5 separate regions of the Homo sapiens genome follow, and all the other regions are linked to region 1. Evidence: promoter capture Hi-C in 16 types of primary human blood cells and fetal thymus (Javierre and others, 2016). All regions are on one chromosome and are shown on one strand. The core of a region is centred on a gene start or on the middle of the fragment in contact, and the rest is flanking DNA. Distances in the headings are between cores, read along the strand shown.

Region 1 (5,335 bases), core at 899-3,398:
ACTCCACCGTAAGTCAATGAGCAGCCTGGATGCCTATCACTCTCAAACCATCATAAAGTCAATTGTTAAGTCAAATGATAGTAAGTCTGGAACCATCTGTATTTGAAAATAAGACACTTTAGCCAATTTCCTGTGAAGCAATACACACGATTTAATATAAAATGAGCATTCCAAATCTGAAAATCCAAAATCCAAAACGCTCCAAAATCTGGAACTTTTTGAGTACTGACATGACATTCAAAGGAAATGGTCACTGAAGCATTCCGATTTTGAGTTTTGGTATTTGGCATGCTCAACCAGTAAGTAATATGCAAATATTCCAAATCCTGAAAAAAATCTGAAATCCAAAACACTTCTGGCCCAAGCATTTCAGATAAGAGATATTCAACCTGCAATAGCAATAACTAAAAAAGGCAGATAAGACAGTGTTTGCACAGGGTTGTGGGTACCATGTTAAACATTTTGTAGGCATCAGCTTATATAACTTATTTATTCTATGCTCTAATAAAAATCGATCCAGTTTTACTCAAGCTAAGTCTTACTATTTATAGACACAAGGCTGAACTTTACTACCTTAAAATGGTAACATAAATTTTGTTTGGCAGTTTGGAAAATTTTGCAAAATACAAACAAATGTAAACAAATAATGGTTATAAGGCTGGCTAAGTAGAGTGCAACCAATTCATAAAAGACTTTAAAAGGTAGAGCCCCTGGCATCTGCTGAGTGTAAAACACTAAACAAATAATTGTCCTATGAATGTATATTGAGTCAAATAGAAGTTTGAATTCAATATTAAGGAGTAAAACGTCTTCTGTGGTAGCAACAAAGAGCTACTTAACATTTTTGAAGATAATACGATAAAAGAAGTTGGCGAAAAGAAGACTTAGAAAGGATACTTGATTTGCCCAAGATCGTAATGCCAGCGGGATAAGGAACAAAGGAACAAATCTGACTCCAAGTTTCCACGGTTTTAGCCATATTCCACAAATCTGTTCATCAGACCATAAAGAGGATAGGTTTCAGAAGTCCATTTACTAAAACCAAGTTTCATTACTGAAAAATAACTGCAAGATGACTAATTACACTCTATGAGCATTGCTCCTATCACTTTTACTGATCTGAATAGTAGAATGGAAAATACAGCCTCGATTTTAAGTAGAACTGTGCACAATCTGTATTTTCTGCATGTGCACTCTACTAATCAGCAAATGTTAACTTACTCATACACAAGAAAGAAGTGAAGGACAATGGTTTAGAAGACAAGCTTTGGGGAGACAAACCTAGGTTCTATTTCCCAGCAGAGAAGTGAGCGACCAGGAGTAAAATTCCTTAACGTATGGAGCCTTTTTCATTACTTGATAAGTGAAGGTAATAATACCTGTTTCAGGAGATTATTGTGACTAACACAGAGTAAGATTTCAAATATTAACTGTGGATGTGACAAGGATACTCTATATAAGATGCAGAATCTAAAATTTACACTCAGGCTACTTCCAGTGTTGTCTTCAGAAAGATGTCAAAGAAAATACTGTAAACGTATTTCATAATGAAACCACAATCTCAAGAATTTGGGGCTGACGACGAAGAAAAGAAAGAAATAGATGACCATTTAATAGTGAAGAGAAATGTAGGGGATAACATGACACTCATCCTGGCGTGAACATGCCAGACACTCGGTGGGAGTTCCACAAAGCTTAAAGGCTAATCCTGGCATTCGGTTTAGCACCACAAAGACCGCGGAAGGAACTGGAAAAACATTCGGGACACCGCGAAAATTGAGAACTACAAAGGCAGAACCAGGGATCAAGATCGCAGGACCAGAAAGGCCTTAACAGCGGCAGGTAGAGAAGGGACAGAAAAAGGCGGGGTGTGGAGGGAGGAGGCGGCCGCGCACTCGCATTCTCGATCCCTCCCACAGGGGACACCAGGGCCGCGGACCTGCTGCGCGAGGAGCTGTCGCCGTAACTTCTGCCGCTCCCGGATCTCCTGCAAGCGGCTATCCATGTTCCAACTCCGGCTTTTCACTATCCCGAGTACTTGTCAATCTCCAGTGAACTCTTATCCAACCTTTCTTCCGAGTCTGTGGAACAAAATTCACCGGGAGCTTACGAACAGAGTATCCTCATAGCTTTCCTCAGTAGAGACTTCCGGCGCGGCCGGAATTGGCTCGCTTGGCCCGGAAGTCCCGCCTCCTTCTGGACGCTTGCTATGTGACGCCACTTGGAAGGGACCCAGTAAGGGATCTGTTGCGCCACAGGGGTCTCCAGGGCCCTCGCAGGTTGGGGTGGTCTGAGCTAGTCTGAAGGAGGACAGTCAGCTGACTTCTCCTTTATCTCTCTTTCCCAGGATAGCAGGTTCCCTTGGTGTATTACAGTTTCTGAAGTGTTGATTCCCTTTTCAATTGATTCCACAGATGACAGTCCTGACGTTTAAAAAATTGCCAGATAACCTTTAATTTTTTTTTTTTTAACAGAACACAAACTTAAGCCAGATTGCCTAGGATTGAACCTTGGCCTCTCACTTCCTAGACGAGTGGCCTTGGCTAGTTAACCACCTTCGTGAGCCTCAGTTTTGTCATCTGTAAAATGGGAGTCATAAGTGTCTACCTCACAGAGCTGTGATTGAAAGGATAAATAGCACCTTGCACATAGCGGTGTAGAAGTGCTTGTTATTGTTAATATTTTATTTACCTTCACGCAGGTAACAGCCACAACATCTGCCCACTCTTCCCCACACCTTACTGTCCCTTGAAATGTTTCCCATTTTACTATAGTATGCATTTTTTGGCTTCTTCCCTTTAGGGAAATGAGTATGTGATAGTAAAGCGTGTCTTGGTTTATGTCCTAGGAGTCAGAAGCTAAGAGACTCCTTTTTGTGCTTGTACATTTGTCTTAACTGAAAATAACCCAAGGATAAGGAAACAAATAGCTTCCTGAAATTACTCGGATTGCGGGGGTGAGGGGTGAGGGCTGGGGGGTGGTGATTCTGTCTTCATAGGATGGCAGCAAAGGCCAAAGTCTTATTTGAGTTATTACCATTATTATTCACCACACTTGCCATCTTATTTCAAGCCTACAGTGGCGGAAGTGGAGTAAGACATCATGTTGCCTCAAGTTTAATTGGAAATCGCGGTAAGTACTTAACAAAATTAGTAATAAGTCTGTTCTTTCAGAGTAGATTTAATTTTCAGAAATAATATTAAGTCATCCAGATCAAAACCAGTTGAGTCAGGCTGGGCCAAAAGTGGGCAAGACTAGATTCTACTTAGTCATGCCCACTTTTATAGAAATAATTATAATGTATTTCCGAAGAACTAGGTCTGAAAGACAATTTTGAACAAGTAGTCCTAAACAATTCCTTGAGTAATGTCAGCACTACTTGGATACTGTAAAATATTTATGTCCATATGAGTTAAAGTGTATTTCTTTAAAAATCAGTTGTATTATCTGGCAATCATTTAAGTTGAATACTGATTTAAATTTTACCAATGGTGAGAATAGGCAATTATTCACTTAAATATCTGTTGATATTGATTGAGCATTTTATATGGCAAGCACTGTGATAGGCCCTAGAGTCTATAAAGTCTGTCAAAGATTAAAAACTAAAGTCGGTTTTTCTTTATGAGTTTACTGTCTAATGGAGGATTTTTCTTTTTCCTGATAAGTTGCTATGCAGGTTACTTGCTTGTAATCTTTGAACCCCATACTCACCTACCCTCTGCTTCGAGATGATGGCTAGGCAGGGAGTCCACAAACTACATTTCCCAGCCTTCCTTGTTAGATGGCTTCCTGTAAGACTCTGCCCACAGGAGGCACAGGCAGGAAATCAAAAGGTGGAACATGGGAAAGCTATTGTCCATTTATTTTACTCTCTGCTTCTGGCATCTAGAGCGATGACTATGTCCCTTACAAAGTCTAGAGCCAGTTGGAGCAGCCCCTCCTTTCCTTACCTTAAGAAAGTGACACCCTTAACAGTGAGTGAGTTTGCTCTTGTGCTATGATACTACTACTTCTACCTTCTGTTCCACCAGCTCAAGGACTGGTAGCCATCCTGCAGTTTAAAATTTCTGATTTAATCTTACTTCTCCCTTTTTGCTCTTCTAGCCTTCAATATCTGCTTAACTATTTCTCCATAGTGAATGGCGTCTGTTTAAAATACTTTTAATTATTTGTTTTCCTGCCTGGAACTGTACTGATGCAGATATGTACTTCCATGTAATATTTACAAAACTGTTGGAGTTGGGCAGAGGGTTGTTGCAGTTTGTACAAAGAAGGGGATATAATTTTGAAATCTCTCTCCCAACTAATGAATTTTAAAACACCAGACCACATCAGCATACTTGTAGAGAATTTTACAAGCCCATCAGTAACATCTGTTCATTATGACAACATAAAGGCCACTAGGGGGTGTGTGTGGCAGGAAGAGGGGGAAGAAATTTCGGAAGTCCTCACATAAAATCCATACTTTTTGAAGAAGCAATTTACTTCTAGGCACTTAATTTAAGGAAGTAAAGAGAGATCCACATTATAACTTATGCATCTCTCCCCAAGCTCCTGGAGACTGACTCCTCCAAACCTATACTCTACAACTCATGATGCTCCCCAACTTATGATGGGGCTATGTCCCAATAAATCCATTGTAAGTCAAAAAATCGTTAGGTGGGCCAGGCGCAGTGGCTTACGCCTGTAATCCCAGCACTTTGGGAGGCCAAGGCCAGCGAATCAACAGAGATCAGGAGGTCAGCCTGGCCAACATGGTGAAACCCCATCTCTACTAAAAATAAAAAAATTAGCCAGGCGAGGTGTTGGGCGCCTGTAATCCCAGCTACTTGGGAGGCTGAGGCAGGCGAATCGCTTGAACTGGGGACGCGGACGCTGCAGTGAGCTGAAATGGCGCCATTGCACTCCAGCCTGGGCAGCAGGAGCGAAACTGCATCTCAAAAAAAAAAAAAAAAAAAAAAATCGTAAGTGGAACTTATGTTAGTTAGGGACTGCCTGTGTAGCTAGTTGCCTATTATACATCTTACTAGAATGCCCTCCACAATCTCTTCTATGGTTTACATAGCTAGTAGCTACCGTACTAGTCAGCACATGTCTAGGTTCGAGAGTATAAATACCTAAACCACTTAGCATTTTATACAATACTTTGCTGCCTCACTGATACAGTTCGAATATAAGTCCCCGCCCAATCTTACGTTGAATTGCAATCCCCAGTTTGGAGGTGGAGGCTGGCAGTAGGTTTTTGTCTCCTCCAAAAATTCATTTTGAAACTTAATCCCCAATACAACAATATTGGGAGGTGTGGTGTATGGAAGGTGATTGAGTTATAACCGGC
Region 2 (4,647 bases), core at 32-2,531, 320 kb before region 1:
CAACTCCACAGCTGCTCCTGCCAATCACTGTATTTCGCCATCATTCTTCTGGCCCCATGAGAGAGGTAAGGTCATAAGGCAATCAGTAAAACTTAAAAATGATCACTGTGTAGGCTTGGTTGCAATTTATGGAGATAAACATATGCATCGAAGTAGAGTGAGGCGCTGGAGCAGAGGCACTACCCCAGGTGCTGCTGCACCTCCTGTGCACTCTGCTGGACCTCCTGTGCACTCTGCTGGTCTTGGCAGGTCCACGTGAGCTGAACTGGGCTGTGGCAGTGATTTCCAAATCCTGTACTTCAAGAAGGGAAATCAGGGTCATGCCAAGTGCCCTTGGTGTCCATGTAAGTGTTCTGTTAATGCGTTTTAAAGCCAGTCATGCTCCCTGCTGCGATTGACTAATAGTTCTCCTATTTATTTCAGATTGAGGAGAGCCTGCATGAATGTCACCATCTTGCCAAAAAGATCCTGGGCCAGAGCTAGCTAAGGAGAGCCTTGCAGAGGCAGGCAAGAACCCTCAGCTACTCTCTCTCTTCACTCAGCCAGGGGTCTGTGTTGAACTTATGTAAGGAAATGGAGTTGTAGCTTAAAGATTTGCTTATGTTACCTCTTTTGATTAATTAGTTAATTATACTATATATTAACTGATTGTCTTTAATGTGACAAACAGTGTTATGGGCTCTGAATTGAAATAATGAATAATGCCCTAGAGAGTCTCATATTCTAACATGTGTAAGAGAGTAGATAATTACAACCCAACATGATAATTTATATTATCAAAGTGAACACAGTATACAATGGAAGTGCATAGCACATAGCACATAGCAGGCAAGGCTTCTCAAAGGAGACAGTTTCTCCTTGACATGGTTTGGCTCTGTGTTCCCACCCAAATCTCATCTTGAATTGTACTACCATAATTCCCACATGTTGTGGGGGGGACCTGGTGGGAAATAATGTGAGTCATGGGGGTAGTTCCCCCATATTGTTCTCATGGTAGTGAATAAGTCTCACTGTATCTGATGGTTTTGTCAGGGGTTTCTGCTTTTGCATCTTCCTCATTTTCTCTTGCCGCTGCCACATAAGAAGTACCTTTTGCCTCCCACCATGATTCTGAGGCCTTCCTAGCCATATGGAACTGTAAGTCCAATTAAACCTCTTTTTATTCCCAGTCTCGGGTATGTCTTTATCAGCAGTGTGAAAACAGACTAATACACTCCTAAAAGACAAATTAATGTTAGCCTCATGCAGAGGGGCAAGGGAAGCCAGTGAGGCAAAGTCATAGAGCCTAACACATAGTAAACACTCAGTCAATGCTTACTGGATGACCTATTTTTTCACAACACAATGCCACCTCCCACGAATACTATAGTATCTAATAGAGTACTCAGAACAATTACTATGTAGGTGAGCTGACAGGTGTAACCTTACAAAATGGTTATGGAGAAAAACCCATCCTTGCTACTCAAGGTGAGGCTCACAGACCATCAGCAATGGAATCACCTGGAGGCTTGTGAGAAGCACAGAATCTCAGCCCCCAACCCAGACTTACTAAATCAACATCTTCATTTTAACGAGATCCCCAGGTGATTTCTATACACACTAGTGTTTGAGACTGGGCTGTACTAAAAGCTCATAAACCATTAATGGCCTTCTATTATAAGATGGTGGTTAATAACTTCTGGCGAATATCAGGCTTTCTTAGGGAGGACTTTCAAAGTACAGAACCCTGCTTTTATTCCCCTGCCTTCCATGGAAGCCAGTTCTTAGAAGCGGGAACCTGGGTATCTGCACTTTTAATGAGCTTCCCCGGGTGATTCTGAGTTCCATTATTTGACAGAACATGGTGTTATTTTCTATAAAATACTTTAGGAAAATATTTTGGGGGGCAATCAATTATGTTTATGTGTGTGTGTATGTGTGTGTGAAACAGGCAGATCTTTATTGAGTGCCTGAGTGACTTTCCTACAAGGAACCATATTATTAACTCTATTGAGCTTCAAATAATCATATTTTTCAAGGAGACTAGAAGATAAGTCTATGATCATTATTTTAAGATTTTTTGGCATGTTCTTTTATTTAAACTATATGCTTCTTATTGTTTTGAAAGCAAAGGTGTTCCAAAGCCAAGACTCTCTGGGTTAGAAGTGCAAACTTAATGTAAGCTGGTGTGCTGCTGAAAACTGACTACCTATGTGTAAAAACTATAGCCCAATTTTATCCCTAGGCAGATCATGCTTGCCAATAATTAGCTCTTCAAAAATATTTTGTATCAATTGCAAGCATACAAAAATCTTTACGAAGCATTTGATAATATTTGTGCTAGATGTACAATGGAATGTAACAACACATTGAAATTCTGGTTTATCTTAACTATAATTTTTATTAATTCTCTACCTGATCACAAAATTTAACATGCTGAAGACAAGAGGTTTTCATTTGTTCCTGATTTTCATTTGAAACCAAATATGATGAAATTTCCATTTCCTCTCTATTATTACATAAACCTGAAGCAAAGAGATGAAATTACTAAGTGCTTGCTTTATAGAAAAAACGATCTCCACATTAATTAAATTAGTTGTAAATAATATGGCATCTTCTAATATTTGAAGGAAATGGAGCAATTAAATGGCACATAAATATATTAAAATGTTTAGTAAGAGTTAAAGTTCAGCAAAAAAAAAATTTTACTTAACCCAAGCAACTACACAGTATCATATATAAATTATGCTTTTAAAGGAAATAAATGTTAATTTCTTGAGATGAACTTTTATAATCTTAAAAATTGTTTGTAAAACAAAATGTAAGTAATGTTGAGTCTCCTCATCTTGCTACAAAACCATTTGGATTTCAATGAAAACATCAAACACCTACTCTTTCTTTTCAAATAAATGTTCTGGCATTCATCTTTTATAATAACATATCATAATTTCTGTTACTATTTAATCTCACTTATATTTGCTAAGACATTTCATTCAAAGCTTGCTTTGCCAAGGAAAAAAAAAAAAAAGCCTGTGCAATTTAAACCAGTGTGCTCGCAAATGTCCACTGCTCATTTCACCTCAGTTTTGAAGGTATTCATTCATTCACTTAGTACTGAGTACCTCCAGCAGCAGGCAGTGTTCTAGGCTTGCTTTTCCCAGGATAGACCCAGGAAGAACTGGCAATTGGACTCCCATCTTAAAAGACTGGATATATGACATGTCTTGATAATCACAGATAATCACCAGTACCCACAGTGAGAAGGGCACTAAACTCATCAGGATTGACTTAATCCAACAAGTAAGTATTAAGCACCTAATATGTGCAAGTTACTGTACTATGAAATCTATGAAATCTATGAAGATGAATATGGCCGAGTTCCTGAACAAAGCCTCTCAGAAATGGAAAGCTGTTGCACTCTCTGCTGCAAAATTTAGTCTCCCATTTGTGTTTCATTTATTTGTCTGTATTCCCTTCCTCCTCTGGAAAATAATAATGTATCTTATAATAATGTACCTTACAAATTCTTCATGAGTCTACATGTGTGATCCATTCTCATATATTCCTCTATTAACACATATACACTTGACATGTTCATATTCCTTAAAACAAAATACATGCAGCAAAGGTATGAGATGATGTTGTTCACATATAAGTGTATAAGTAAATGTTTTGTCGGTTCGCCAATATCAGTGGTTAAAAAAACATTAAAATCCATATTAAAATAGGAAAGGATGTGATTGTAGGAAATGTGGCATGACACTCCTGGCACTAGGAGCTAAGACATAAACATGAAGACCAAGGCCAAGGTGGCTTGACTCTGGTGCCGCTGATGAGTGCAATGTGGATTTGGTTCCCAAGAGTGAAGTTGTTGGCTGATAAATGATGAACAGAGTATTATGAAATATAGGTTTGATTTATGCCATATAAGCATACGATCATGCCATATATAAGGCTTATAGACATAAATCTAAGTAAGTACTTTATGTGCTTCTAGGTCAATAATTTTAAAGTCAAACTATCCGATCATTTTGTTTTATGTTTTTTTTTTGTTTGTTTTTTGTTTTTGTTTTTAACATTTCAGGATGATCTTTTTCTCCCATGCCTTCCAGTTTTTAAAAAAGTTAGTGGTAAAATAGAGTATGCCTATATGTGCGTGTATATACATATATATATATATGTATATACATATATATATATATATATATATGTATATACATATATATATATATATATATATATATATACCTTTGTTCTTTTTTGTTTTGGGAATTTTCAGTCTCCTCATTCTTGTGTGTGTGTGTGCGTGTGTGTGTGTGAGAGACAGAGAGAGAAGAGAGAAAGGGAAGGGGAGGGGAGAGAATTGTTTGTAAGCCTCTTGAAGTTAGAGATCATGTCTTTCTACCTGGTACAAAGAGCCAAGTACATTGCCTAATGTGATGTCCATAACCCTTAGAAGTCCCGAAATGTAATGAAAACAACCGTAAAATAAAGGTGCAACAAACCAACAAATTAAGTGTACCTGAAGAAATATGAGGTAATTTAGGATGGTCACAAAAATTGTTACAAGCATAAAACAAAGAAAAACTTGGTTGCTAATAAACGTAGAGTGAAAGATAAATGTAATGAGAGAGACCATGTCAGCATGTTGCAATACCCTGGCTATAC
Region 3 (4,837 bases), core at 1,597-4,096, 380 kb after region 1:
TCTGATTTTATAGCTGATTAAAAAGAACAATTGTGTTTTGTAGAGTCGCTCATGCTTTAGAATCAGTTTGCATGTTTGGGCTGTTCTAATACTTTTGAATCATGACTTAGGTTTTCCTGTCAGACTGATGGATGGAGAAAATAAGAAAGAAGGACGAGTGGAGGTTTTTATCAATGGCCAGTGGGGAACAATCTGTGATGATGGATGGACTGATAAGGATGCAGCTGTGATCTGTCGTCAGCTTGGCTACAAGTAAGGAAAACCTAATTATTTGGGATGGTTACTGATGAGCATATCTGAATTTTTAAATGCTTAATCTAATGAGTTACTTTTTACTTAAAATGAGCTTCTGTCATTCATTTGAAAATACTGGCAGCATATTGATTTGATCCAGAATTATAAAGAAGTAATAAGTAGAGCCTATTCACATTTTTCTACTCACAGAAAATATTATGTCACACAAGAAATGTAGCTTTTTATCTAATAACAAAATAGTCTAATAACTCTGACTAGTCATAATACAGCTTGTATCAGCTTCTGTCAGTTAACCTTTTCTCTGTGATTGATGTTTCAACACTGTAGCCTTTTAAGGGACTCTAGAGTTATTGAAATTACTGTTGGTTCTCATTTTTCTTGATAGTTATAAAGTCACTGTGGACACTGAATTAGCAAATGCTGAGCCATTGCTCCTAGAGCTGAGGTCACTGCTCTCCCTTCTTGTTTCAGCTTTCATACTTGTTAACAGTTGTCCTCTTTTACAGTCTGTGTGGTGCCAATTTTTTTTTTTTTGCATTTCTGTGCTTGCTTTGCTGATGACTTCACTGTTTAAAATGGCCCCCATTTATAGTACCGAAGTGCTGTGTAGTGTTCCTAAGTGCAGAAAGGTTGTGGTGTGACTTAGAGAGAAAATGCATGCATTAGATAAGCTTCCCTCAGGCGTGAGTTACAATAAGAACATGGCACTAAATAGAATGTGAAAAGGACACTTGTTTACAGTGTGAGAGGAGCAAAAAAGAAGGCAGATCATCTCCTGTTGGTTAGACCTCAGCTGGGTAATTTAAAATTTTACTGGCTCTGCATATGTCATGAATGACTGTGAAAGCACCCTAAGTAATGATTTTGAAGTAACAAAAATATGGAAAATGTTACAATTCAGAGGGTTATAAATTTAAGATAATATGTATATAAATTGCCTAGCTCAGAGTAGATTACTAATAGTAATTTGGATTTAAAAATATATCCTTAATTATATATCTGTGTTCATTTTAAATATTGAACACTTCATATGGTTATTTTCTATAAAGAATACATGTTTATTTTAAAAAGCATTTCTGTTTTAATAAAAGTTCACATGTTGGGGGTAAACTTCAAAATCAAAGTTGTTTCTGGTTACTCGATACTACTTCAATTTATGGCTCAGTTTTGGACCCAGTTGCAATTCCAGTTGTCCTACAGCCAATTAATCCTTCATTTGTGATATAAATTTTCAATTTTCAAAATATGGGGCAGTAAAGTAGGGAGAGTCTACATTAGATGTGAAAGTGAATTTGGTCAGTGGTTAATTTTAAACTTCTTTTGCTCACTGTGTTTCTATCACTCCTTTTTCCATTTGAAAAAAAAATTATTCTTGTTCTTGCATTACATTCCCAGTACATTTCCTCACCCAAAATCAGCCATTAAAAGATATTGCTCTTTGAGACTGGTTTCTTGGCCATATTTTAATTTTATTGTCTTGGTGGAAGTGATCCAGGAAACCTAGTATTACCTTTGGAAATACAAAGGGGAAGATTGGCACCAAAGTTGACCTTCAAATTGTGTGTCTCAGCTAAGTTTAAGGAGAGAAAAATTTTCTAGGCATATTCATCAAGCATCATCAACACACATGTAGTCGTGTGTTATTACTTGGATTTCTTTCTAAATTGTTCATTACTTTTTATTTATCATCATTGATATAGTTTGGATATTTGTCCCCACCCAAATCTCATGTTGAGATGTAATCCATAATATTGGAGGTGGGATCTGGTAGGAGGTGTTTGGATCATGGGGGCAGATCCCTCATGAATGGCTTAGGCCATCCCTTGCTGATAAATGAGCTCATGCCCTGAGTTCACATGAGATCTGGTTGTTTAAAAGTGTGTGGCACCCTCCCACCCCGCTTTCTGCTGCTACTGTTGCTGTGTGACTTGCCTGTTCCCCCTTCACCTTCTGCCATGATTGAAAACTCCCTGGGCATCAGCAGAAGCCAAGCAGATGCCAGCCCCATGCTTCCTGTAAAGCCTGTAGAACTATGAGCCAATTAAACCTCTTTTCTTTATCAATTACCTAGTCACAGGTATTTCTTTATGGCAATGGAAGAATGGCCTAACACAATCATTTAGTCCATTTAACATTTAACTCAAAAGTGAATTTAGCCTCATGTTAGAATGGCTATGGTCAAAACAACAAAGGATAACAAGTGTTGGTGAGGATGTGGAGAAACTGAAACCCTTATGCACACTGTTGGTGGGAATGTAGAATGGTACAGCCACTGTGGAAAGTAATATGGAAACAGTATGGAAAACAGTTCCTCAAAAAGTTAAAAGTAGAACTACCATATGATCTAGATATCCCATTTCTGGGTATATGGCCAAAATAATTGAAATTAGGATGTCAAAGAAATATCTGCACTCCCATGTTCATTGCAGCATTATTTGCAATAGCCAAGATGTGGAAACAGCCTAAATGAATGGATGAAGAAAATGTGGTATGTATGTGTATATATATATACAGTTACTGAAAGACAAATACTACATGATTCCACTTATATGAGATATCGAAAATAGTCAAACTTATGGAAGCAGAAATAGAATGGTGGTTATCAGGGGTTGGGAGGAGAAGAAAATGGGAAATTATTTTTCAATGGGTATAAAGTTCCTGTCATGCAAGATGAATAAGTTCTAGAGATCTACCGTACAATACAGTACCTATAGTTAACAATATGGTACTATATACTTCAAAATATGTTGAGGGTATAGATCTTATTTGTGTTCTTACCAAAGCCAAATGAAAACAGAAACAGAACATAACAAAACAAACAAACAAACCTCAGAAAAGAACACAAGGAAATTTTTGGAGGTGATGGATATATTTAGCACCTTGGTTGTGGTAATGGTATCACAGATACATGCATATGTCCAAACTGAAGAAGATTTTTTATATTGATTATACCTAATTAAAGCTAAAAAAGAAGTGATTTTAGATGAGAAACACACTCTAGATTAAGTGAACAAAGTTTGTTGCAGCTTTCAATATTTCTGTAATACTTATCAATCAAGAAAAGCATCAAAAGACTTTATAATTGCATTTTAAATAGTCTTACAAGTAATTCAGTAATTTAATGTTACTATAACAAATTGGATAACATAATCTGCAATTTGCCATCAAATAGTATTTAAATGAGAATTGTTTAGCTATTTGATTAAATATACTTGAATATTTTTATAATTTCCCACTGAAGGGAAATTGGATTTCATATAAGAACATATATGTATATTTTCAGTATATATATATATGTGTGTGTGTGTGTGTATATATATATATATATATAAATTATAAACAGGTATGTGACTAGTGCCGAGGATCTTTTTTTCATCATGTCTATTTTGAATCACAAAAAATCTTTAATAAAGGACTTATTTGTAGAAATCAATCCAGGAAACTTTGAAGCTGTTATAAGATTTGAGCCTCATAAATAGGAATTTCAGAGATCTGTCCTCCAGCCAGTTCTATGATGCATGAGGATTAGTCCTTGGAAATACTGAGAATCAAAATGGTATTAGAAAGCCTTTTCATAATGGGAAAGACAGAAATGAGATAATAAAAAAGGAAATGTGAATGGTAACTAATACAGATATGCTTAAAGTGAACAGAAAGTAAAAGGCATTATTTATTGATGCATTACATAATGTCTGACAAAGTCTAGCATATGAGCATATTGTTCGTAGATTGTTGATAGAGAATGTGTTGAGATCAGTTAAATTCATTGAGATAGACTAAGTAGTCATGACGGAAATTCCATTATATTTACACTTTATGTGGATCCAGTAGCATATGTTCCAATATAGCATTGTTTTTGAACATGTTTGTTAGCGTATTAATCCTTAAAAAAATTTTAAAAATTGTATATTCTCACTGCTTTAATAGAGATCTAAAATTAAGTGTATCTGATATCTATTTTACATTTAAATAGCTGCAAAGGACTTAATTTCTGGTATATTTGTATGACATTTGAATATAAAACAGTTATACCACTCTTAATTATATCCAGTGAAATATAAATATAGTAATTTGATTCAGCTATCCATTTTAAAAAATACATGAACAAAAAATACTTCTTTGACCAGAAATTTTACAGTTTTTTTTTCTCCTTGAAGTTGTATTTTAAATTTTCTTCCCCCACGGAATCTCAATGTTATTATGCCTTAAAAATATGTGTGTATATGTATATATACACACACATATATGCACACATACACACATACATATACACATGTATGCATATATACAGATACACACACACACGTACATGGAGAGAGAGAAATTATGCTAACAAGTTTCAGGTGTCTCTGGAATTTATAATTTCTAGTATACAACTGATAATAAACAGCAAAATATTTAATAAAATTATTAAATAATTATTAAACATAGAAAATAAAAGTTTACCAAAGCTCTCATTTCTTAATTAGACCAATGGGTTGGGTTTGTGTTGCTTGGATTAAGGAAGCTTCATTGCTATCATATATTTTGAATTTTTCTTTTGTCCCCTTTAGAGGCTTTCAAACTTTGGAGGAATGCACTG
Region 4 (4,722 bases), core at 1,345-3,844, 420 kb after region 1:
GCAGTTTGCCAAGAGAGTGAGCAAAGTGATAGAAGGGAAAAGGAATGCATGCAAGGGACTGGTTATATTGATTTACCATGACATTTAAGTTAGACAAGAAGAGATGCTAATACTTGAGAACAGTGAGGGACATTGATAATGTGGTTTAAGTTGGATCCATGAATTTTGAGGTGATGGTGATCCAAGAATTTTGGAGCTGGGATTTTAGAGTAAGTGTTTGACATTGTGAAACATTTATAATATAAATTTATTGAAAAGTTTGGCAAGCAACATTGTGAGCCTTTTATGGTTTAGCCTGAAAAATTGGATTGCCTATGTGTTCTATGATCTCAAACTGGCCTCCAGCACTTTAAGAGTGAACGCCTGACTTGGTTGTAGAAGCTTGCACGTCAGTGAGATTCTGCACTTATGTTTCATTAAATATTTAACATCTCAAAAGCTTGACTTTTTCTTTCTTTCGAAGATGGCTTGTGGTACTTGCTTTAGTCTATTTCCTAGTGAGGCTTTTTTTTTTTTTTTGGGCTTACTTGCCTTTATGCAAAATAAGAGTGTTATTTATTTTAACATTTAATATGGCATATTAAAAGAGAAGATCTTGTTTTGGAGTATTCATAAACTAACAATTTAAAAACATCTAATGCTTTCATCCCATATCAATTAAGATAATTTGAAAATTTAATGATCACTTGTTAAAATTCTCCTTTTTCTACACACAATATAGATTACAGATGTCTTAGGATGTCAAACATTTACTCTAGTACCCCAGCTCCAAATTACTTTGGCCCATTATCCATAAGCATTATAAATATCTGTATTAGTGGGAAGATAAGCTTACGTTTATGTAAAACTTGATGGAACGAAACAAAATCACATGAAACAACAGTTTTTATGTGGCCACTAGATGGCTCTGTTACACTATTATTTAGGTATATGTTTAAATCCCTTTGAATTTGTTACCTTATTATTTAGGTATGTGTTTAAAGCCCTTTGAATTAAATACATTTGTTCATTGTGCATGCATGTATTAATGTATATGTGGATAATAACATGAAAATGTCAGCATATCTAGTATCTCTAAAAGCCTATCCTCTGGACTCTAGTTTTATATGATGAATGTCTACAGTGAATATTGAAAACTTCAGGTTCTACCAGAAAGGAACAACTTTCTCCAGATGCATATTCTAAACATACCATTGGAATACACCAGACCTTTTTAATATGTGAACTTGATATACAGATTTTTAACATACTGAATTCATCAATTAGAGATTTAATTCATTTCCTACTGTCTGAAGTAGTTAATACACTGTTAATGTGTTGTATATCAAACTAGACAATGATTCTGTTGGAGAAATAAAATATTTCTGCCCAGTCTACTGGAGGGCAAGAATGTAGTCATATTCATCTTACCTGCAGTAGTACTTTGGAACATGCTCAATGAAACGTTTGTTGAATGAGGAAGCCAGGATGATAAAAGTGAAAAAGAATTCTGGGAAATTATACATAATGTACAGAAGGAAAAATGAATGCAGGGTAGTACATTTAAGCAAAACTGGCAAACTTTTTTGAATGTAGCTTAGTATATTACGGCAAAGTCGACTAACTCTTTTGGCCTCAGGCACATCTTACCTCTCTCTTTGCCAAAAAGTTTAAATTAAGTCTCCCCGCTGCAATAGGACTATATTTCAAATTTTATAATGGAAATCATTTCAGAGAGAAAAATTCTATGGCAAACTTTGAAACTAATTCCTATTAGTTAGTATTTATAACTGGAATAGGTCTTCACTGTCTCTACCAAAAAATACAAAAATTAGCCAGGCGTGGTGGCAGGTGCCTGTAATCCCAGCTACTCAGGAGGCTGAGTCACGAGAATCACTTGAACCTGGGAGGTGGAGGTTGCAGTGAGCCGAGATTGTGCCACTGCACTGCAGCCTGGGTGACAGAGTGAGACTGCATCTCCAAAAAAATAGAAAATCAAAAACGTAAAATAAAAGACTTCAGATGCTATATAAGAATAAATCCAATTTAAGTTAAATGATGAGAGCACATAGACACATAGAGAAGAACAGTACACACTGGGCCTACCTGAGGGCGGAGGGTGGGAGGAGAGAGAGGATCAGGAAAAATTACTATTGGGTAGTAGGCTTAGTACCTGGGTGATGAAATAATCTGTACAACAAACTCCCATGAAACACATTTACCTTTGTAACAAACCTGCACATCTTGCACATATACCCCTGAATTTAACATAAAAGTTTTTTTAAAAAAACATGCTATGGCTGATACATGCTATAGATGAAACTCAGAACCATGTCACTAAGTGAAAAGAGGCCAGACACAAAAGACTACATACTGTATGAATCTATTGATATGAAATGTTCAAAAAAGGCAAATTTACAGTGACAGAAAACAGATCAATGGTTGACTGGGGCTGGGTTGGGGGCAGGGCTTATCTTCAAATGGGCATGAGGAACCCCGTCTATCAGCCTTCTATCTGGGTGTCAGAGATCTTCTGACATCAGATCGCCATGATGGCTATTCAATTCCATTAATGACTCAGCAGTTATGAGATGTACACTTCACCTGGGTGAGTTTTACAGTAGCTAATCATACACCCTCAAAAGGTCTATTTAAAAAGTCATAAATGAATAGATTAATTTCCACCTTCCTGGACAGTGCTCAACCAGCCTTTCCATATTCACTCTTTAAAGTTCACTCTGTCACCGTGTATTCTACCTGTAACCTGTTTCTGGATTCTGCATGCTAACATTGCGTTGAGAATTGTGCCTCTTTATTCAGGAATATGATTGGTCTATAGATTTGTTTTCTGCCATCTTTGTAAAATTTCAAACAAAAAGTTTAAAATAAATGTCATACTTACACTATAGAGAGAAAAATAAATATATTTCATCTCCAAATGAACAATCATTAAAAAAACCTTCAACTGAATATGTAAGACGTGTTAGTAGTTATTTCTTAATTATATAAGTAAAACTATAGAAAACTAAGTAGAATAGAACCAGATAAGTGACTTTTGTATTTCTCTAATTTAAAACCCTTTTATCAGGATGATAATTTATGTAAATGGGCAGTATTTCTTAGAAAACAGAAGGTCTAGAAAGAAATCTCTGCAATTGAGGACTTAAATTTGATAAAAGCCATACGAATTTTGAAATACCCACCATTCTTTATAGCACTGAACAGAACTTACTGAAAAGGACTAAGAAAGTAAATTATATAAAATAACACAAAAGGGTTCTGAAAATAATTATTTACAGTATCTTTTTTTTTTTTTTGAGAGTCTTGTTCTGACGCTCAGGCTGGAGTGCAGTGGCAGATTTCGGCTTACTGCAACCTCCGTCTCCAGAGTTCAAGTGATTCTCCTGCCCCAGCCTCCCAAGTAGCTGGGATTACAGGCGTACGCCACCACGCCTGGCTAATTTTTGTACTTTTAGTAGAGACGGGATTTCGCCATGTTGGATAGGCTGGTCTCCAACTCCTGACTTCAGGTGATCTGCTCACCTCAGCCTTCCAAAGTGCTGGGATTACAGGTGTGAGCCACTGCACCTGACTACAATTATTTACAGTCTCTAAGGGAGATAGTAGTAATGGTGATAACTAATGTTTATTGAGTACTTATGTGCTCATTAACTCATTTAATCCTAACAATTGTATGAGCGCTATACAATTATTGTCTCTAATTTACAGATGAATAGATTGAGGCACAGAGAAATAATGTAATTAACCTAAGGTTTGAAGTGGATTTGAATGTAGTCTCACTGGCTCAGAGCCCATGCTCTTAACTGGTGTTGTGTGTAAAGGGAGAAAAATGATACTAGGTATAAAATAAGTCTGAGCTTTGCTACTTGTGTGACCTTGGGAAAATTATCTATCCATTCCAAACCTGTTTCCTCATCTGTAGAAGGAAACCAGCAGTATCTTCCTTTTGGTATTATTGTTAGGATAACTTATAAGAATTATCTGGTAATTATCATTTAAAAGTTAGAGGTTTTGTTTTTTTGTCCTACATTTAATAATTATTTTGCTAATTTTAATTATTATTTAAAATTGAATTTATTTTTTGTTATTTAGAAGACAGTTTTAAGTCTTTGTATGATTGGGGAAATATATATTTTTGTTAATCGAATTTATTGATTTTTATGAAAAGTTATACTTTTTTCTAGCACTTAAATATAAGAACATATGTATGTTAAAACTGTCATGTCTTTTCCAGTTACTTATTGTGAAATTAATTCAACAAGTATTTATTGAGCACTTATTATTTCAGAGACTAGACCCATCGATGTGGGGATATATTGATGAAAGAAAAGACAAATAGTTTGCTTTCGAGAAGCTTATTCAAGTAGGAGAAGACAAAAGATCTAATAAAATTGGTAAACTACAGAATTAGTTATAAGATTTTAAGTGCTATGGTTCAAAAAAGATTAGTTCGGAGTAATAGGAATCAGGAGTCAGGGAAGGGAGGAAGGGGTGAAATTTTATGTAAGGTTGTCAGGGTAGGCCTTATTGAGAAAATGACATCTGAGCAAAGACTGAACTACAGTGTAGAAGTTAGCCACGTTGATATTTGTGGGCATGTTAACATGAATGTCTTAAATAAGATAGTCAGCAAGGGAGCCAGTGCAACTGTTGCAGAATGAGAGTTTGAAAAGAGGAGCTGCGGTTAGAAAGGTGATGAATACCACATCATGTAAGGCCTTG
Region 5 (4,634 bases), core at 1,841-4,340, 400 kb after region 1:
GAATTGACAGATGCTTATCTTTGTCGTGTTCAACATATTAATTGCTAAACTGATAAAGGACACTGATGGTAAATTGATTATATTTTTGGGTGCCAGAAGAAGGGGAGGGACAAGTAATATGTTGGAAGGTAGGATCATGATGGCAAAATATCTTTTTTTTTCATATATGGGAAGACCAATTTTTAAAAATTTCTTCTAAAAAAAAAACTAGGATACATGTGCAGAACGTGCAGGTTTGTTACATAGGTATACGCGTGTCATCGTGGTTTGCTGCACTTATTGACTGGTCCTCCAAGTTCCCTCCCCTCACCTGGCAAAATATCTTGATAGGCTGATTCTAACAAGCAATATGGAATAAGGATGAAATAAAATGCTGCCTTTAGTTCCAGGAAATTTGGCTGAAATACAGCACAAGTGAAAAACTCACTGGTTTTAGCGTCCTGCAACTTTAATAAGACTCAGCAATACAATATGGTTGCCCATGAAATTAATTCAGTCTTGGGTAGCACTGACGAATGGTGTCCAGACAAAGCAGTGAAGAACCTTGCTATTCTGTCTTTCTGTGCTCAAGCAACTGTCAGGGAGAAAAGCACTGTGTCCATCAAACAGAGAACTGTGCTCAGTTCTGTGTGCCACACAATGAGAAAAGGACATGGTGCTCTAAGAAGGGCAAGCAGAAAGGAAAGATTGTGTGGGACTGGATTAGATTTGTTGCCTTTTGCTTCAGATACCACAAATGTTAAAGGGAGATAAGATAATTTTTGCTTTAACACAAAAAAGAGTTTTCTGTTGTTTATTTTTTATTTCTTTGACACGAGGACAGTTCAAAGATGGAATGGGCTATATGTGGGAGGAAAAGTGAGTTCTGTTAAGGAGTCTGTTTAAGCAGAGAGAGCTTAGGTTCATGTGAAGGTAGAGGCTGGTGGTAGATAAGATGTAGTGTTTAGAGTACTGTGGTGAGAAAGCAAAAGCTATGTTTGAGGGATGGCAATTATTACCTAGAATACAGGATCTGGGATTTGTTAGTGAACTTAGAGAGACGAGAATGGCCTGGGATGCCAGGGTTATGGATTCCTCTTTCATTTACTAGGTAGTGGGAAACCACTAAAGTTTTGAGCCTTGAAAGATGATCAAGGAAGAGTTTCAGGAGATGAGTCATTTGGAGATTTGTGGCATATATCTGAGGGGGTAAGGCAAAGTTATTAATCTAGGGGGGCGTCTGTGAATGGGCTTGACATTATATTAAAAAAATCTTTGTATATGTTTGTACTTACATGCCTTTTTCTGGCAAATTGGTCTGTGTTACCAAATGATTTAAGTAGGAACTGGAGGGACTGTGAGGAAGGGACCTAATTTTATACTTTTATACTGGAGGGAGACCAGTTATAAGATTATTGTAATAATAGAAATAGGTGAAAAGGAAAGGAGGGAGTGAAGGTAGAGAGACTGTTAGAAATCAGTAGAGCCTGGTACAATACAACAGAAGGAGACTTGGATCTGGCCACCAAGACCAGGTTTACAATTCTAGCTCTTCCAATTGTTAATTGTTTAACTTTGCAGAAATTATTTAACCTCTTGGAGTCTCAGGTTACGTCATTTTACATCTGTAAAATGAAGATAATAATGTTCCACAGTGAGAAACAAATGATCTGCAAAGTATGTCAAAGTATTTTATAACCTCTAAAATTCAAAACAAATATTGGTTATTTTTATGTTGGAGTTTAAAGGCAAGAATTGAAGACTATATTAGTGAAAGTAGGGAACTGAGGATTATTTTATTTCACTTACTAATGGAGAAGAATAAGGTATAAAATTGCAAAGAACTTGAAGAAGCCTATTTTGGGGCTTTGAATTTAAGCAAAATAATCTGTTATCTTCCTGTTATTCAAGATTTCTTGTCTTTCAAATTTCAGCCAAAAGTTACAGTCATAGGAGTTCAAGGCTTAAAGTATTAAAGTAGGAAGATTGCTCAAAAGTTGCACTTGAGGTTAAACACTTTAACTTTTGGGTTCCCTGGATGGGCTCTTTTTTTTGTTGTTGTTATTTTTGGATTTATTTGTTTACATGTCATTATTTCTCCTTTGGCCTGCTCTGTCTTGATTATTGCTTAAAGTCAGTAATCGTCTCATTTCTCATTTGTGTTTATACACCAAGTGTCTACTGTATGACTTGGCACATAGTAGATACTCTGAATGATTGTTACATGATGAAAGTGGTGGCTCAGTTGCCAGATAGTGAATTATTTAAGAATGTTGGGCTTTTTAGAGGATGATGATATTTTCAAACTGAGATCAACAGATAATTCCTTCCATATGTCCTTTGGAATTTCTTCTCATTATTTGCACAGTTTAAGATAAAAATAGTTGATTAAAGAGCAGAGGAGCAGATTATGATATGCAGCATTTTGATATGCTTTGGCTATAATACAAGATTCTTTTAATGTGAGTAGGGAAAAAACTGCTTTGCAAATGTGTTATATATCCTTCTGACTTGGCTTTTACCTTTGCCGGATTTCATAGACTTCCTGTTTGAAGCGCCTAAGGAGGCTACAGCTCACATCTTTATTGATGTAAGTTTATTAAAAGGCATACAGCTAGTTACTAGTGATTAGAACAAGCTCCAAATTTTGTTTTCCTAGATTTAGGGACTTTTGCTTAAAACAAATCCTCCTTTCATCATCAGAAACACTGAAATTTGCAAAATAGAGACTGTAATCTAGAAGCAATGTAGTAGGGCTCTGAGAGGTTCCTGTCCTTTTAGATGCCAGGTGAAAGATACCTTAGTTTAATATAAGGCCTATAGGTAGGGGAACGGGATTTCATATTTTGAAATTAGCTTCCCCTCACCCCCTTTTGACATTTCCACTGCTTTATCAACTACTGGGCTTCTGTATACCTAAAGATTTCTTGTTCATCAGAGCTTCCTTGGTACCTAATTCTTGCAGTGATGTAGGCCAATGTTCTTGACCAGCCATTTCTGGACAATAAGGCATAGATCGTTATTACCATTTGTGTTATTTAATTATACAGGATTAGAACTTTTTATGTTTATTTGTTTGCCTTCATAGCATAGTCACTCTTTTATATAATCTTTGTATCAGAATAATCTAGGAATGGTGGCCTGATGAGGATGAGATCAAAATGCCATAATTCCACTCTGCCATATTAATGCCATAATGCCGCTAGCCTCAGTTACACTCATTTCATGTGGAGTAGTCTCTTTAAGGGTGCTTTATGTGAAGGCTGGCAAAGTTTTCGTAACTCAACTCTTATTCCCTCATAGCTTTCACACATTTCCATGCCAATGTAACAAGCGCACCTGAAGTAGTTGGTAAATCACTATTTAAAGGCTATCTCATTTTTCACATTTTTCTTAATGTTAATGCAATACACATGGAATGCAGTAGCCTGTTGGCAATTTGAATTGGAAACTTTGTTAAATTAAGTTCTTTTGTAACTGGCTTGTGAATCTTACATAATATAAATTGCTAATTTTTGCTTTCTATTCTAGATTGTAACTACAAGTACCATGAAATTGCCTTGCGTGTCTATTGTGGTGCAGCAATATAACTGAGACAAAAATTCCTGAATATTAATTTCTTTTAATTGCTTATTCTGATAACAAACCTGATTTTGCAGGAATAAATGTACCTGAAACAAGGGCTTTCTTATTTCTGTAATTTTACTCCAAAGTGGACTTGTTCAAGAATATAACTTTACCTGACTTTATCTCATTGACTTTTTGCCCTAGAAATGCAATAGTAGCTGGAAATTGTTAGAAATGACTAGATATTTCTAATTAGAGAGATGGCCACAGAGGTAATGGGACTTACTTTTTAAGAACACAGTGTGTCAGATGCCTAATATATGTTTCATCATGACATAGTATATGGTAGAGCAGAGCTCTTAGGAACATAGCCTTTGGTAATACACATATCACCAATCATGCTAAAACTATTTCTGTAGTACACATAGTATTTGTGTATGTGTAAGGGCTAACGCAAGATTCTACTGAGGTTTACTTCTCTGTAAGCAATTGGAACCATTTACATAAACAACTTCAGTCAACTACTTTTTGAGTTTCATCCAGAGAGGAAAAACAGATTTTAGTAGTAGCAGATGTGCATGGCCTGATGTAAAATACTGTTTTCCTGTAGAGACGAATCCATGTAGAGAAGAAACACAAAGAATATGACCCTGCAACCTGAATTAATTCTACTTTTAATTCTAGTAATTTGTTGTTGTTGTTGTTTACTTTAGCCTCAGAGTCTCAGAGAAACTTGGACATTGGATTTTAATAAACTACTGTGTCTCAGATCCTCTCTTGCTCAAACTTGTCTGGGAATTTCATCCAATTTTTATTTGAGGGGGAGTTGAAGGCATTTCAGCAAAGCAAACAACTGAATGATGTGTCAGCCAAAACCTGAAATGTTTGTTTTAGAAGCATTTTTGGATAAAATAAAGTCTATCAAAATAACAAAAGTTCAACTAGAAAGACCTTAAAATACATTGCAAAAGAGGATTGCTTTATATGTTGTCTTGAGAAGCCTAGAACCATAATAGATACTTCTGAAGTCCACACACATATTGAGTACTTCAGCCAAAGTGTTATCCCTAAAGCATATAATCATACCC

The links. Contacts are between HindIII fragments. The CHiCAGO score rates a contact against its expected background, and 5 or more counts as called.
Region 2: a fragment that was not itself captured here is called in contact with the fragment with the promoter of METTL14 in region 1 in 1 of 17 cell types (monocytes); the score reaches 5.3 in monocytes.
Region 3: a fragment that was not itself captured here is called in contact with the fragment with the promoter of METTL14 in region 1 in 1 of 17 cell types (total B cells); the score reaches 5.2 in total B cells.
Region 4: a fragment that was not itself captured here is called in contact with the fragment with the promoter of METTL14 in region 1 in 9 of 17 cell types (total B cells, naive CD8 T cells, monocytes and 6 more); the score reaches 10.0 in total B cells.
Region 5: a fragment that was not itself captured here is called in contact with the fragment with the promoter of METTL14 in region 1 in 3 of 17 cell types (total CD8 T cells, total B cells and fetal thymus); the score reaches 7.7 in total CD8 T cells.

What each region holds. Positions count from the first base shown.
Region 1 is chr4:118,682,205-118,687,539 of GRCh38, reverse strand. METTL14 (methyltransferase 14, N6-adenosine-methyltransferase non-catalytic subunit) reads right to left here and starts at 2,148. Exons shown (of 11, transcript NM_020961.4): 1 at 1,940-2,148. The coding sequence starts at 2,005. It overlaps METTL14-DT (METTL14 divergent transcript), which reads left to right and starts at 2,199. Exons shown (of 7, transcript NR_125930.1): 1 at 2,199-2,235; 2 at 3,073-3,132. RefSeq lists enhancers at 1,610-1,749, 1,930-2,189. The HindIII fragment of the contact is 9,570 bases long and covers 1,697-5,335 here.
Region 2 is chr4:119,006,796-119,011,442 of GRCh38, reverse strand. The region is part of intron 1 of SYNPO2 (synaptopodin 2); the gene reads right to left. Among named protein-coding and RNA genes, the nearest start is that of SYNPO2-AS1, 24 kb to the right of the region's middle. The HindIII fragment of the contact is 3,399 bases long and covers 1-2,980 here.
Region 3 is chr4:118,303,851-118,308,687 of GRCh38, reverse strand. PRSS12 (serine protease 12) reads left to right here. Exons shown (of 13, transcript NM_003619.4): 8 at 111-252. Among named protein-coding and RNA genes, the nearest start is that of SNORA24, 27 kb to the right of the region's middle. The HindIII fragment of the contact is 3,836 bases long and covers 929-4,764 here.
Region 4 is chr4:118,266,811-118,271,532 of GRCh38, reverse strand. No RefSeq gene overlaps it. Among named protein-coding and RNA genes, the nearest start is that of SNHG8, 9.6 kb to the left of the region's middle. The HindIII fragment of the contact is 3,524 bases long and covers 833-4,356 here.
Region 5 is chr4:118,287,635-118,292,268 of GRCh38, reverse strand. The region is part of intron 11 of PRSS12 (serine protease 12); the gene reads left to right. LOC124900766 (a long non-coding RNA gene) reads left to right here and starts at 252. Exons shown (of 2, transcript XR_007058245.1): 1 at 252-2,569; 2 at 3,511-4,316. The HindIII fragment of the contact is 8,460 bases long and covers 1-4,634 here.